2 separate regions of the Homo sapiens genome follow, and region 2 is linked to region 1. The links are contacts of gene promoters, found by promoter capture Hi-C in human tissues and cell types (Jung and others, 2019). All regions are on one chromosome and are shown on one strand. The core of a region is centred on a gene start or on the middle of the fragment in contact, and the rest is flanking DNA. Distances in the headings are between cores, read along the strand shown.

Region 1 (7,576 bases), core at 1,554-4,053:
CCTGATGTTGTTTACTTTATTGGGCTGTGAAAATCAAAGGACCTGCTGCACTAAACCCACTGCTGGTCTAGATGAGACCTCCTGAAGTGCAGAGGCAGTGCCCCTAAGAAAGAAATTTCCTTTTTTAAAAAAGAGGGCCTTCTGGGGTAGCATTTTCTATTTTTAACCTTTTTTGAAATTTTGATAAAAAACACGTAACATAAAACTTACTATTGGCCAGGCACAGTGGCTCACACCTGTAATCCCAGCATTTTGGGGGGGCTGAGGTGGGTGGATCACTTGAGGTCAAGAGTTTGAGACCAGCCTGGCCAACATGGTGAATCCCCATCTCTATTAAAAATATAAAAATTAGCTGTGTGTGATGGTGCACACCTGTAATCCCAGTCACTCTGGAGGCTGAGGCAGGAGAATCACTTGAACCCAGGAGGCAGAGACTGCAGTGAGCAGAGATCATGTCACTCACTGCATTCCAGCCTGGGCGACAGAGCAAGACTCCATCTCAAACAAACAAACAAACAACAACAAAAAGCTTACCATCTTGGCTGGGTGTAATGGCTCACACCTGTAATCCTAGTGCTTTGGGAGGCTGAAGTGAGGAGGATTACTTGAGGCCAAGAGTTCAAGACCAGCCTGGACAACATAGCGAGACTCCATCTCTACCAAAAAATGAAATATAAAAATTAGCTAGGTGTCGTGGTGCGTACCTGTAATTCCATCTAGGTGAGAGGCTGAAGCAGGAAAATCGCTTGAGCCCAGGAGTTTGAGGCTGCAGTGAGCTATGATCACACCACTGCACTCCAGTCTGGGCAAACAGAGCGAGATCCTGTCTCTAAAAAAACCCAAAAAACCTTACTGCCTTAACCACTCTTAAGTGGTTAGGTGGCGTTAAGTACATTTACATTGTTGTGCAACCATCACCACCATTCATTTCCGCAGCTGAAATCTTCCCAAGCCGAATCTCTGCACCCATTGAATACTAACTCCTCATACCCCCTTCTCCTAGCCCTTAGTAACCTCCAGTCTACTTTCTATCTCCATGAATTTGACTACCATGTGTATCTCATATATGTAGAACCATGCAGTGGTTGTTCTTTTGTGTCTGGCTTATTTCACCTAGCATAATGTTTTCAAGGCCCATCATCCATGTTGCAGCATGTTTCAGAATTTCCTTTCTTTTAAAGGTATTTTTAGACCGGACACAGTGGCTTATGCCTGTAATCCCAGCACTTTGGGAGACTGAGGTGGGTGGATCACCTGAGGTCAGGAGTTCGAGACCAGCCTGGTCAACATGGCAAAACTACGTCTCTACTAAAAATATGAAAATTAGCCAGGATTGGTGGCACATGCCTGTAATCCCAGCTACTGTCGAGGTTGAGGCATGAGAGTCGCTTGAAGCCAGGAGGTGGAGGTTGCAGTGAGCCGAGATCATGCCACTGTACTCCAGCCTGGGTGACAGAGCTAGATCCATCTCAAAAAAAAAAAAGTATTTTTATACTTTTTGACAACATTGCTTGTATTGAAGATACTCAATAACAGGATGGTTGGTAAAAGGGCAAGTCTTACCAGCTTTCTGTATTTACTCATCTGTAAAATGGTTCTGAGTTCTATTACTATCATTTAAACACATCTAAGCAGGGGTCACAAACCCACAAGGTCCAGGCGCATGTGTGGTAAAGCCACCTGGAGGGGGGCCGTGGTGAAGTGGAGAGACGGGTCTCTGATAAAGGTGGCTGCTGCTATTTAGTTCCAATCCACTCTGTCCAATATGTAATGTAGGCCCAGTACTGCATGCACAAATCTGATTTCACACTCTGTTACCCAAGCTGGTCTCAAACTCCTGGCCTCAAGCAATCCTCCTGCCTCAGCATCCTAAAATGCTGGGATTCCAGGTGTGAGCCCCTGCACCTGGCCACAAATCTGATTTTTATGTGTTGGCCAACACTGTTGGGCCAAACAGAACATGTTTGCGTGCTGGCTCTGGCACCCAGGCCACCTGTTAGAATGTCTGCCAGGGCTAATAAAAAGCTAATTTTAGTGTGGCCTCATTCATTAATTCATGCAATTAATGTTTATGGGTCTCTACTAAAGGCTAGGTTACACATATGTTAATCTTATTTAAAAATGTACCTATTTTACTAGGTATTAGTATCATATCCACTTTTCATATTAAAGACAAGCCCAGAGCGGTCAAATAACTTGCCCCTGGTCACACAGTGGGAAGCGCTGAGGTGGGCTTTGAACTCAGATGGTTTTCAGAGCCCAAGGTCCTGTCTCAAAGGAGGGGGACTCACAGGACAATGTTAACCCGTGGACCTATGGACACTCCCAGAAAACGTGATTTGCAACTTGTCGTGAAGGACGAGCTCAGCAAACAAGGCCGGACGTCAATCCAGGCAGAGGAAATAACTTGAGCCAGGGATCAAACACTAAGATTGGCAGGAAATGAGCAGGAAGAGGTAGCGGGGTCCCTGACGCCATCTATTCAATTGTTTTTCAGAAGAGGTATCAGCTCTTGAAGGCTTACTTCTCAATACTGGCTGCGAGAGCAAGAATGGTGTGTAATTTACAAAAGCCGTCATTGCTGTAGGTAAGTTGTAGCAAACGACTCGCGCCCGAGCATTCCCGCCCCCGCCTTCGCTGCGGCCCCGCCCACGACGACCCTGGGGAACTACAAGTCCCGCCATACAGCGGGGAGCGCCCGGAGCTCGCGCCGGCCCCGCCCCCAGCCCGGTCCCCACCCCCGGCTCCGCCCCCGGCCCCCTCCCGCCGGGTCAACCCCGAAGAGTCGCCGGTGGCCGCGGCAGACGGAAGCCGAACGAGTTCCTCGGCGGCTGCAGGATGGGGGACTCCAAAGTGAAAGTGGCGGTGCGGATACGACCCATGAACCGGCGAGGTGAGAGCCGAGCCCTCCTGGGCCGCCGGGGCGGAGGCGGCAGGTGCCTGGCGCGCCCTTCCCTCGGCCGCCGTGGGGGGTCCGGCGGCCCCGCCCCTATAGTCAGCGGCGGGGCGCGAGGAGGGGCCCGGGGACCCTGAAACCCGCTCCCGCGCTGAGACGCCCGGCTCCCTCTTCTCCCCTCCCTTCCCCCCTGGCCAGCCCCGTCCCTGGCGCCGTCGGGCCCCTCGTGCCGGCCCCGCTGCCCCTTCCGCCTGCGCCCGCCCCGCCCCTGCGCCCTTTTGCCCTCTCGTCTCCCCCGGAGGTTCCCGAGGGCGCCCTCGGCCCTCGCGCCCAGCCTCGTCCTGGCCCCTCAGCCTCGCTCCTTCCCCGCCAGCTGTCATCGTCGCCCCCGCGCGCGGGTCGCCAGCCCCTGCAGCCCGCCTCGGGACCGCCCGGGACCCCCCGGGACCCCGCGTCTCGCCCGGGTCGCCCAAGCCTGCACCGCCTTGGCCCGCGGCGGGAAGAAGGGCAGGGGGCCAGGCGGGTGCCCCGCGGCGAGTTCCTTCCACCTGGGCGTCCTGAGATTGGGGTCAGGTGGAGGAGATGCCCTTTTCGTTGTTTTTGGACAGTTGAGAAAGTTTTGGTTTTGCCTGAAGTCTCATTCATCATCTCTCAATAAATAGCTAAAGTGCCAAGATTCTTGTGGAATTGTATCTTTCTGACATTCTCTTAACTCTGCAGGGAGTGTAGAGAAGGCAGATAAACCGAGTACATTTAAATAATCTGTAGACCCGGGGAGTGGAGAGAACCCCAAAAGTCAGGGGAGGAGGTGGGCTGGGTCTTGGCTTTGATAGTCAAAGCAGCATGACTGGGTGAGTTGCTTTAAATAAGATAATGTGTTTGAAAACGCTTTATATACAAGGTCCTGTCATTGGGGGTCACTATTACTGTCTCAGGAGATGACTTTGCCATTGATGAGACTTTGAACTAATTAGAATCATTTAAGTACCAGAGACAAAGTTGTAGCTTCTTAGCAAAATCAAGTGTTGTTTAATTTTTATGTAGAAATTATAGGTTGTTTTCCTCTTCTTTGCTTTCTTTTGTATATATTGAGACATACAGATCAACCAGTTGACATAAGCTTTGTTGGTTTGTCCTTCTCGGGGAAATTGGTTTCTCGCTTGGAGTTATCTCATCTATGGGAATTGTTTTGTCCTGTTCCTGCTAGGTCCGATTAAAGCTGTCAGGTGAGTTTTTTTCCCTAAGAACTTAATTACTTTAAGTTCTCAACTAGTGCAAGATTGAGTCCTGCTTTGCTTCACTAATCTCGTGCTCTGACAACACACAATAAACGTCGATACAATTCTGAAAATTTTCAGAAGCATCAGTTTTTAAATATTCAGGTATCTGTATTTCAGTTTACTTCCAGTTTACCATCACAATAATTTAAAGAAAGAAGCCAAATGAAACATAACTTATCTGGGAATTGATTCTGAAAGGATGGTTTCAGCACATTCTTAAAATTTCCTTTTCACAAAAAACTTGGAAATGTCAGTGCTAAAAAGAGGCCGCTAACCAACCACCACAAAAGACATCTCAGATATTTAGAGCCCTTTCCCTCTCCCTTTCCCCATTGGTTTCACTTTTTGAGGGAAATTCTTATGCTTTTCTCTTATAAATTGCCATTGATAAGGTTGTAATAAACATCAGAGTTTAGAGGAAGGCAAAGAATAATAGTTTTAGCTGTGGAACGGATGTGAGCTGATCCTTGGGTTCAACAATCATTTTGAAATTGAGGTTTACCCATAGATTCCATTAGCCTATATAGAGAAGTGCATTATTTGGTGTAAAGTACCTCCTGTGTTCACTTAGTGCCCATTCTTAGCCTTATATTTCCTGACGTGCATGTGGACTTCTTTTTTCAGTGATTACCACACATAAATTTGTTCTTTTCCATTTTTGTTATGAAGTAATTGTTCACATAAATATAAAGGTTATTATGGAATACAGTGTGGTGGGATTGTAAATCCAGTGATTTTTAAAAATTGGTGTCCAAAGTTTGTATAAAAAGACTAAAACAGGCCAGGCACGGTGGCTTACGCTTATAATCCCAGCACTTTGGGAGGCCGAGGCGGGTGGATCACCTGAGGTCAGGAGTTCGAGACCAGCCTGCCTAACATGGCAAAACCCTGTCTCTACTAAAAATACAAAAAATTAGCCGGGCGTGGTGGTGGACGCCTGTAATCCCAGCTACTAAGGAGGCTGAGGCGGGAGAATAGCCTGAACCCAGGAGGCGGAGGTTGCAGTGAGCCAAGATCGTGCCACTGTGCTCCACCCTGGGCGACAAGAGTGAAACTCTGTCTCAAAAAAAAAAAAGACTAAAACAAAACCATATTTCTTTCCAGTAATTTCCTTTTTTTTCTTCCTTGTATGATCTGTAGGAACCTTTCCAGTAATTTTGAAAAGAATATTACTTTGAACAGTTATTAGTATTATGTAATACTGTATAATTATGACAAAGAGTAAAACTTGAGTCCTAATAGTTTCTATCATATAGGTGCCGGAAGCAACCTTATAAATCGCTATCTATAAAAGAGGACGGGGATGAGAATGGGTTACTGTGATGATGTAGTTTTACTGTGTAGACTCTGATATTTGGAATCACATTAGCTATCTTTTGAGGAAAATCTGAAAATTTCCAGAAAACTCTGGTGTATTAAGTTCTTGTGTGATTCAGTGGTTGTGCTTAGGTGTTTGGAGTTTTAAGGTGGTTAGCTGATTTATTATTTAACAGTTATCCTCGAAGTGAGAGTATTTTAGTCTTTCTGCTAAACTGTATGTGGGTTTGGGAACCTTAGTTATTTGAAGGTTAAGCATTAGGCCCTAATTCAGTAACAGGAAGAGTTGTAATGGCTAATTTGTCAGAAATATTTGTCTAGTCATACATTTATTTTAACATTCCACTAACAAAAGGAAAAAGAAAAAGAAAAAAGTTCACATACTTTCTTCATCCTAACAGCTTTTCATTTCCATGCCAGTTTGTGCTCACACGTGTATGTAATTTTACATAATTTTAATATTACAACCTTTATTTTGCCTTTCTTCATCTGAGATGCAAAGCTAAACAACTAGAGAAAAGGGTAAATTTTTGTCACAAGATCTTCAAGTTCTATTTGCAGATATCGTTTGTTTTCCAGTGTTGTTGTTCAGACTGTACAGCTAAACAGATAATTCTTGTGTGCTTCCATGTGCCGCACAGAACACCCATTCATACATTATTAACCCGTCTAATCATTACAGGAGCTGAAAGTTCTGTAGCCGTAATTGGTGGGATTAGTTAGATCAGCAACATTCTCCTTTCCAGGAATTTGATGTTTTCTAACTTTAGGTGGCTTAAAAAACATTTAATAGGTAAGCAAACATTGATTGAGTGCCTGCCAGGTATCTGGCTTATATTAGATAGGATGAGATCTTAATGCTTTTCCTCAAGGGATTTCCTGTGTGTAAATCTGTATAAGATCAACTACCAAAATAAGTAAATATCTATAAAAGGTGTTTGGAATACCTTTGTTACCTACCTAGCCTAAGGGGGTAGAACCGGGAAACGAAAGAAATGAAGATAGAAACAGTGAAATAGATTATTTCAGGTGTTAGGGAGAATGGACAAGAAATTTATTTCAGGAGATATTTCAAATGAGTTTACTTGGCATTTTCCAATACTTGATGTGGTGAAAGACACAGAAGTATGTAATAATGTCTAATAGAGTCAATGTAGAGTCAGTGCCTTGGTAATCATGATCTAGTATCTCAATGGAGGGACTATTATACAGCGATTAAAATGATGACAGTCAAAACCATTTAACAAGGAAGATCGTTTTCTCTGTTAGTGGAAAAAGAATGTAAAGCTGTACGTGTAACTGATCAAATCTATTATTATTACTATGTAAAAATGTATACAGGAATGGGCAAGAGCTAGAAAGAAACATGAAAAAGTGAAATTGATTGTTCTTGTTAGGGGGATTTTACTTCCTAAAAGTTTTCTTAGGGTTGCCTGTTACCATCATATTCAGTTTCTTAAAGCATGCTTTATGGTTCATGCCTGTGAGGAAATGACTGTCATGGGCTTGAAAAGAAAATGCCTGTGAAAAGATTAGATTAAAAGGTAAACAGCTGTAGCAGGCTGCTAGTTACTAAGTGCCAGGTGAATGACAGGGAAATAAGGGAATCGAGAGGAGTTTAGACTTCACTGAGGAGGGTGAACTTTGGTTGGACTTCCAGGGAGGAAGCTTATGATGTGAGCACGGGAGAGGGGATGGCATGTATTCTTTGAGGAGGAAGTATGGCCTGAGAGTGAGGACACAGAGACTAGAATGAGTAAAGCAGGTTTAGGCAGCAGAGATGAGATCTGCCTGCCAGAATGGAGATTCTGTGAGGATAGCTAGAGAATGATGGGACAGGAAAGGTCAGGTGGATTGCAGGAAGCCCTGAAAGCAGCCAGGCCAGAAGTCCGGACCTAGGGTGGCTGGTCCACGCACTCTGTTTTGCTTCTTGGGACCTTGTATGGGGCTTGGACACAAACACAACGGGGAAAGATTGCTAGATCCCAAAGCAAGATTGGAAGCTTCAGTAGATGACCGATTTCTGGCATAGCTGGGCAGGATTTAAAAGCGCTTGCTGAAAATGAAGCCTTGTGAATGGGAA
Region 2 (7,576 bases), core at 3,538-6,037, 520 kb before region 1:
AGTTCAGTTTATCTATTTTTTCTTTTGTTGCTTGTGCTTTTGGTGTCATATCCAAGAAATCATTGACAAATGCAATGTTATAAAGCTCTTGCCCTATGTTTTCTTCTAGGAGCTTTATAGTTTTATGTCTTTATTCCATTTGAATTGATTTGTACATATAGTATAAGGTAAGGTAAGATAAGGTAAGGACCCAGTTGGTTCTTTAGCAGGTAGATATCCAGTTTTCTCAGCACCATTCATTGAAGATGCTGTCCATTCCCCATTGATGGTCTTGGCACCATTACTGAAAATCAATCAACATTATACGTAAGGATTTTCATTCTACTGACCACAAGCTGGTTCAGAGAAATTGGTCTCAGATAGTGCTAAAAAAAAGTTATTACTGAACCACAGCAACAAGTACATTTTCTTGGGTAAATACTATTGTTTTTCAGTCTACATAATACTTTGAATTAGAATATCTTGAACATGCTTTTATCCATTTGTTATTGATGTCTACTTGTTTATGATGCTATCATTTTTCTAAATATGACAGTCTCAATCGTTTCTCGTCCTGCAAGGTGAACAGTGATTTCTTCACTAAATAGTCCTGAAATTCTCAGAGGATCACTTAGAGGGGGATACGGTTTTTGGAATGCTGTGACCTTGGTCTGTGGAGAAGGAGGCGCCTAGGAGTTGGCACCAAATGACTGCTGGAAGTGTAATTTACATGATATTGGCATTATTGTGACTCTATATGCCTTTTTTCCTTGAGACATCTTTCGGGCATTTGAAAGCCCATGTTTACTGCATCCTAATGTTTTCAGATTGTTTTCTTAAATGCTGTCCTATATGGTTCTCATGACCTCTCTGTGAAGTAACCCAGTTAGATATATATTTTATTAGTTAAAGACCTGAGACTCACAGAAGTTGAGTGGCCATGTCCAAAGCTCATAGCCAGGAAGTGGAGGACCTGGGACACGCGTCCTGGCTCCTGACCCTGAGGCTCTCCTTTTACAGTGCACACCAGAATACAGCACCTGCTATTCTGACTTACATCATTTCTAGAAATGGGTTATTGGCAGATGAGACACCGTCTTCTCCCTCCTCATCATGGAAGGCTGAGTATTAGGCAGAATGATAAAGGTGAACTCTACAGAGACTAAGTGCAATTTTTCTTGGTACATTCCCATTGTAAGTAGCAGATTAAGAACTACCAGAAAAAAATATAGCCATGGAGAAGGAAAAGCTTTGCTCTGAAAGACCTTCTCCCCACAGTGAGAATTCTGGTTTCACATGGAAATGGCAGGCAGTAGGATGGCCATTCTCATAAATCATGTCATGTGGTGAAGGCAGAGGCCTCCTTATTTAGAACAATGTTTTAATTTCCCAGATGAACACACCAAGGACCAGGGAAGGAAGTGATTTCCTCATGGTCAAGCTGCTGAATAAAGACAGATCAGGCTCTGGCACCCTACCCTCCTACTTTCAGCTAACAAACCTTGCTAGGGAGCATTCCTATTTCACAGCTACCTTCTCTAGCATCCTCATTTTTGCACATGTGCTGTCATTTTTTTAGATATCAGGATGAATCCTCAATCATCTTGAATAAAAAATACGAACATAGACTTGTTCACCAAATTGTCCTGAAATTCTTTTCATAAAAGGAAACAATTTGAATCTTGGATGGAGTAAACTGAGTGCAAAAAGAAGGAAAAACTGCTTCAGACAACAGGTCACTGTATTAGGCCATTCCTGCATCGCTGTAAAGAAACACCTGAGACTGGGTCATTTATTAAAAAAGAAGAGGTTTAATTGGCTCACGGTTCTGCAGGCTTTATTGGAAGTATGATGCCAGCATCTGTTCAGCTTCTAGTGAAGCCTCAGGGAGTTTTTAATCATGGTGGAAGGCAAAACAGGAATAGGCACATCACATAACAAAAGCAAGAACCAGCGAGAGAGAGTTGGGAGGGAGGTATCCCACATCTTTAAACAACCAGTTCTCGCAATAACCCACTAACAGAAAGACAGCACCAAGCCATGAGGGATCTGTGCCTATGATCCGAACACCTCCCACCAAGCCCCACCTCCAGCACTGGGGATTATGATTCAACATGAGATTTGGCAGGGACAAATATCTAAACTATATCAGTCATTTAATATGCTATATATATATATGAATATTAAAACAGGAAGAAATCTAAGAAAACATAATTTATTGATTGCCTAATTGATACAATTACAATGAATGATAATTCATTGGACACATTTTTATTGCATATTAGTATGTGCTAGGCACAGTGATTAGTACTATGAATATAATGGTGAGCAAAAATGAGCATGGTCCCATCTTCATGAAGCATATAGTCTGGTGGCAAAGATAGGCATCAAACAGATAAACATATAAATACATGTAACATTAATGCTTTAATATGTTTTATGATGAAGAAGTATGTGGTGCTGTGAGGGAATTTAACAGAAGAGAGATCCCTGGATTTGTAATTCAGTCTTTCCTGTAGTTGGATGGAACTTGGAATAGCCAAGGAGTTGAAAGAAGACCAGTGCAGTTGGAATTCAGAGAACAGTAGGAGCATGACGTGAATAGAGGATGTAGGATGGGTAGGAGCTGCAGGGCGCAGGATATCTTATGGAGGATAAGGATTTGATCTTTCTCCAAAGAGCACTGAGAAACCATTAAATGACTTGGATGGGGCACAGAGAAGATGTGGTGGGAGCAGTTATCATATTAATCCTTTGAAAATATATATATTTTTTGACTGCAGGATAATAGGCTGGAAGATGGCAAGAACAGGTGCAGGGAGATCTGTTAAGTGCTTGTTGAAGTAGCCTACGCAGGACACAATGGTGGTTTGACTTTGTGATATGGGAATAGGGAAGAAGAGAAATGGATATATTTGAGAGGTATTTAGAGGTTAAGTGGACTGGATTCGGTAATGCATAAAATCTGGAGAGGGAGGGAGAGGAAAGCACCAAGAATGACTCCAGGTCTCTTAAATTGCACTACTGAATTGACGGCAGTGCCATTCATTGGGATAGACATTGGAAGGGGAGTGGCTCTAATGCAGGGAGAGAATGCTTGGGCTTAGACTGCAAGGTAAATTTGAGGCATCTGTAAGTAGAAATGGAGATACAGTACAGGACCGGAACTCAGAAGATGGTGTTAGCTGGAGATATAAATTTGGGATTTATGAATGACTGGCTATTGAAGCCATAAACATGGACAAGATGGACAGAAAGTACAGAGAGAGAAGATAAGAGGGCCCAGTGTGGAGTCTTTGGTATTATAAGTCTTGATGGCCTAAACTGAGAGGATGAGTAGGTGAAGGACACAGAGAAGGCGCAGCCAGAGAGTAGAAACCATGAGGTGTGATGTGATGGTGACCAAGGGAAAAAGATTGTGTTGAAGAAGAAAGCAGTGGTCTTCTAAGTCAAATCCTGCTTAGAGATTCTGTAAGGTGAGGACTAGAAAAGATACATTGGACTTAATGGTGTGAAGATCATTGAAGAGGCTTAGCTACATCAGTGGATAGCTGTGAGGGGAAGTCTATTGGGAGTGAGATGAAGAATGAACAGGAGGAAAGCAAATGGAACTAAAGTGGTACTTATGGTCTTCCTTTGTGCATCTGCTCATGAAATGTGCCCCAGGCTGGGTGCAAGAACAGGTCCCAGAAAAACCTGTGATTTGCAGTATGACCACTGCTAAATCACCTAACCCTTCCCTGCCTCAGTTTCCTTAATCAATTCTATGGACTATAACCCGGGCTCATGAGGGATAGAAGAGCTTTGGAAATCCAAGCTTAAATTATTCCTTAAATTCACTAAGCGCCAAATGGCAATTATTTTAAAAACTATTTTCCTGTTAAAGATGTGTCCTCCCTCACACCTCAAGAAGATTTTTGGTTTATTTTTGTTTGTATTAGAAGGGATATTCCCCTTTTCCAAATCTGGTCAACAATAGAAAGTCCTTATCTATGTTCTCTTGTGATCTTGGTTTAGGAGATAATATCAAATCTCCCATGTATGTATTGGCTAGTAACGTATTTATTTACCCTTAAGACCTATATTGTTTTTATAATCCTAAGGCTGATGTGAAAGAGGAGAAAAACCTGTTTTTTGTTTGTTTTCTAAATGATCACTAGGTACACTAGAGAGGATTATCCTTCAACAAATATGCCACAGAGTTGAAGGAGGTGATCAGGAATCCCTTAGAGTCTTAGAAGCTCTCACAATGTGACTGATTCCATATGTTTAATGGTAAATATGATAAGCCCTTTAGATTTCTCTGTTAACTTAATTTCCCAGACTGCCACAATGGTGAGTAATTGAATATTAACAGATGAAAATGGAAGCTGTGGACACATGTCAGTTGTCTCATACCAATGGCTCCCTAACGTGAAAAGCCCTGCTGATACCCAAAACCTTACTATGGCCTTTCTTGAAGGAGCAGGTCTGTTGGAAAATAAAGTTATCGTTGGCTAGATAATTGCTATTTGTTTTTTGTTCTCTTGAAGATATTTATAGGGCCCAAATCAGTGGTATGGTAGACTGAGAGTCCTGTGAGAAGTACAGTCAGGGGATATGAGTGAAGATTTGTTGTCTTAGAGCAATGGCTGGAGATTGGGCCAGGCCTGGACCCTTAAAATCTGCTCTATCCTCCGTATTCTTTTTTTGCTGTTTATGTGTTTGGGAGTAAAGGACTCCAGGGTCTTAAGATATAACAGAGTGATAAGATGGAATCAGCCTGGATCCCTGAGTCAACACTTGGTGGTGAGCCTCCAGGAGGAACTTTCCCATTAGACTGCTGCCTGAGCAAGAAATAGACCTTTGTGGTGTCAAGCCATGAAAATTTTTGAGTTGTTTGACATAGCAGTTGGTTTACCCTGAGTAACACATCACAGATCTATAATGCAATGTGAGCTGTGCTATAAGCGAAGCTTATATAAAGTGTTATAAGAAGAGACAAAGGCCTGAGAAGGATAGAAAGATGAGATGATATTTAAGCTTGATAAACAGAGAAGAGTTTGCCAAATGAGACAGGTGTGGAGACAATTTAAACAAGTGGTCTAGTGTGGGCAAAGCCCATGGTGCATGGAAATATATTCTGAGTAAGAGTGAGTGACAAAGTTCCTTTATGGGACCTTTGTAGGGGGCAATTGGAGAAGATGCTGAGGCCAGAGCAAGCACTGAGGGCTATATCTCTTCAGTTTTATCCAGAAGACAGTAAGGAACTGTCAGTATTTCCAAGAGAAAAGCATATGTTAGAAGGATCCTCTGGCATCTGTGTGGGGTATGGATGAAGAAGGTTGCACGTGGAGGCTGGAAGTACATTTAGAAAGTTGTTTCAGACCTGTGATCCCAGCACTTTGGGAGGCCGAGGTGGGCAGATCACTTGAGGTGAGGAGTTTGAGGCCAGCCTGGCCAATATGGTGAAACCCTGCCTCTACTAAAAATACAACAGTTAATTGGCTGTGGTGGCAGGTGCCTGTAATCCCAGCTACTTGGGAGGCTGAGGCAGGAGAGTCGCTTGAATCCAGGGGGTGGAGGTTGCAGTGAGCTGAGATCACACCACTGCACTCTAGCCTGGGCGACAGAGTGAGAGAGAAAAACAAAAGAAAGTTGCTTCAGAAATCTAGCAGGAACTTACAAGAAAATATACATGCAGCACACAAAACACAGGGCCGAACACTAAGAAATATTAGGGCCATTTTGTTTCTTTTCCCTGAATGAGGGAAATGACTGTGGGAATAAAGAGAAAGTGAGTGGATAAAAGAGGCTTTTGGAAGCTATAAATCCTTGATGAACAAGTATTGAATAAATGATGCAGTATCTTTTGGGGATGCTGAGTGGTCTGACTGTTAAGCACCCCATGGTGGGGATGAGGGTTACTAAATAACTGTGTCCCATGTCCTCTCCTCTCACTAGAAGCTCTTAAAAATCCAGACATCCAACAAGAGACCAATAGGATACACTGATGTTTTATGAATGGGGCCAGGACCAGCCTGAGTGTGGAGCCTCGTGGGCTGAGTTTCCCCGGGATTCAGAGCCCTGAGGTTGAGTTTTCTACTGGTCAGCTGGATCAGGTAATCAGTACCTGTGGGTTGGTGGCGGCAGGGAGTTGGGGTCATGCGAGAGGGATTGCGTCTCTGGAAGCCTTTTGTGCTGTCCCATGAAGGGCCCCTTTAGGGAGGGTGGGTGATATGGACAACATGAATGAGGGACAGAGGGCCATATATTCTCAGTTATGCACAAGGCAGCCAGCTCAGCTGCAGGAGGAGATTGCCCACTTGTTCATCATATCCAGATTCTTGCCGTTAGGTCTCCCCTCCTACATGAGGCGTGGATTGGTGGTGAAGTAGGTTGGTGGTGAGCACTAAACGGGAAAGAGTAAAGGTATAGTTGCCTAAAGTACGGACCGTTTCAGGCAATTATAGGAGAGTGGACAGTAATGATGAAATTGATGGAAATTTGGTGCAAGGGGGGAAGAGGGATCCTCTGACAGAGACCCTGCCATCATCAGTCTAGGCAGGGAAGGGACACTGAGATGTCAAGATGTCATCACATCTATTCCTGGAAATGCAGGGCTGCACTTCCAGCCATACCCGGGGGAAGCTGTCTGCTCTTTCTGAAAATATCTTGAGATTTCGTTAACACATTGTCCCTTTTAATATACACCACTGTCTTACCACCCTAGGGAACTTTTTTTCTCTCTCTCTCTCTCTTTTTTCTTTCTTTCTTTTTCTTTTTCTGTGTGTGTGTGTGTCTAATCTAATTCCTTACAGCTGCAATATATTCTGTTTTTCCTTGCAGTTCAGCTGCTATAAAGAGACAGTGCCCGGCCACCCATACAGCATTCCATTGTGGCAGACAATGGACTGGTGAAATGCAACGTAGACAGTCTGAGGACCCTGTGCAATGGAAACTCCAATTGAAATTGTACATAGTCACTAACATTCTACCTATTCAAGGGGGCTGAAGACAGAGTCTAAGAAAAAGCTCTGAAGCCAGAGCACTGTTGCAGCCTCGGCCTCATTTTCCAACAGGTACACTAGAGTTATAAATACACGCATGGGCCACAGGGATGGCAGAGGTAGACAGGAGCTGCGTGGGTGTGGGCCAGCTCCCGGGCTCATCTTTGGCACTATGGAGTGCTGGCATGTTGTACTTGTTCCGTGAGAATCTGGGTCCACACTTCTATTCTGCATCCCTGGTTTCTCAAAGGGACAGTGACCTCTACCAAGAAAACAGCTAGTGGGGCTGTTTACATGGAACAATGAGGCTTGGTGTTGGTCTGGATCTGGTTAACTGGGGGAAAGGAAGGGAGTCGCTATGACTTTATCCCACTTTGCTTTGCAGAAGTCTTTCATATAATCAGAGGGCTAGAAAAGAAACAGAAATACATATGCCGGCTGCTACATTTTACAGAAGAGGAAATGGAGGCACCCAGAGATAAAGCCACTTATACAAAATCATGGTGAGATAAGGGTTCTCAGAGATTGGTTGTGTGTAAGAGAAACCCAGTTGAACAAGGTGAGGGTCAAGGTAAGCCCAAGACCTCGGGGCAAGAAGTGCCAAAAGG

What was found. Contacts are between HindIII fragments. The study calls those that stand out against the background at their distance.
Region 2: a contact is called between a fragment that was not itself captured here and the fragment with the promoter of KIF13B in region 1, in 1 of the 25 tissues and cell types used here (lymphoblastoid cells).

Annotation. Positions count from the first base shown.
Region 1 is chr8:29,258,297-29,265,872 of GRCh38, reverse strand. KIF13B (kinesin family member 13B) reads left to right here and starts at 2,803. Exons shown (of 40, transcript NM_015254.4): 1 at 2,803-2,893. The coding sequence starts at 2,839. RefSeq lists a silencer at 2,596-3,425. The HindIII fragment of the contact is 11,996 bases long and covers 1-5,589 here.
Region 2 is chr8:29,781,496-29,789,071 of GRCh38, reverse strand. All of the region lies in intron 1 of LINC02099 (long intergenic non-protein coding RNA 2099), which reads right to left. Among named protein-coding and RNA genes, the nearest start is that of LINC02099, 37 kb to the right of the region's middle. The HindIII fragment of the contact is 4,550 bases long and covers 2,513-7,062 here.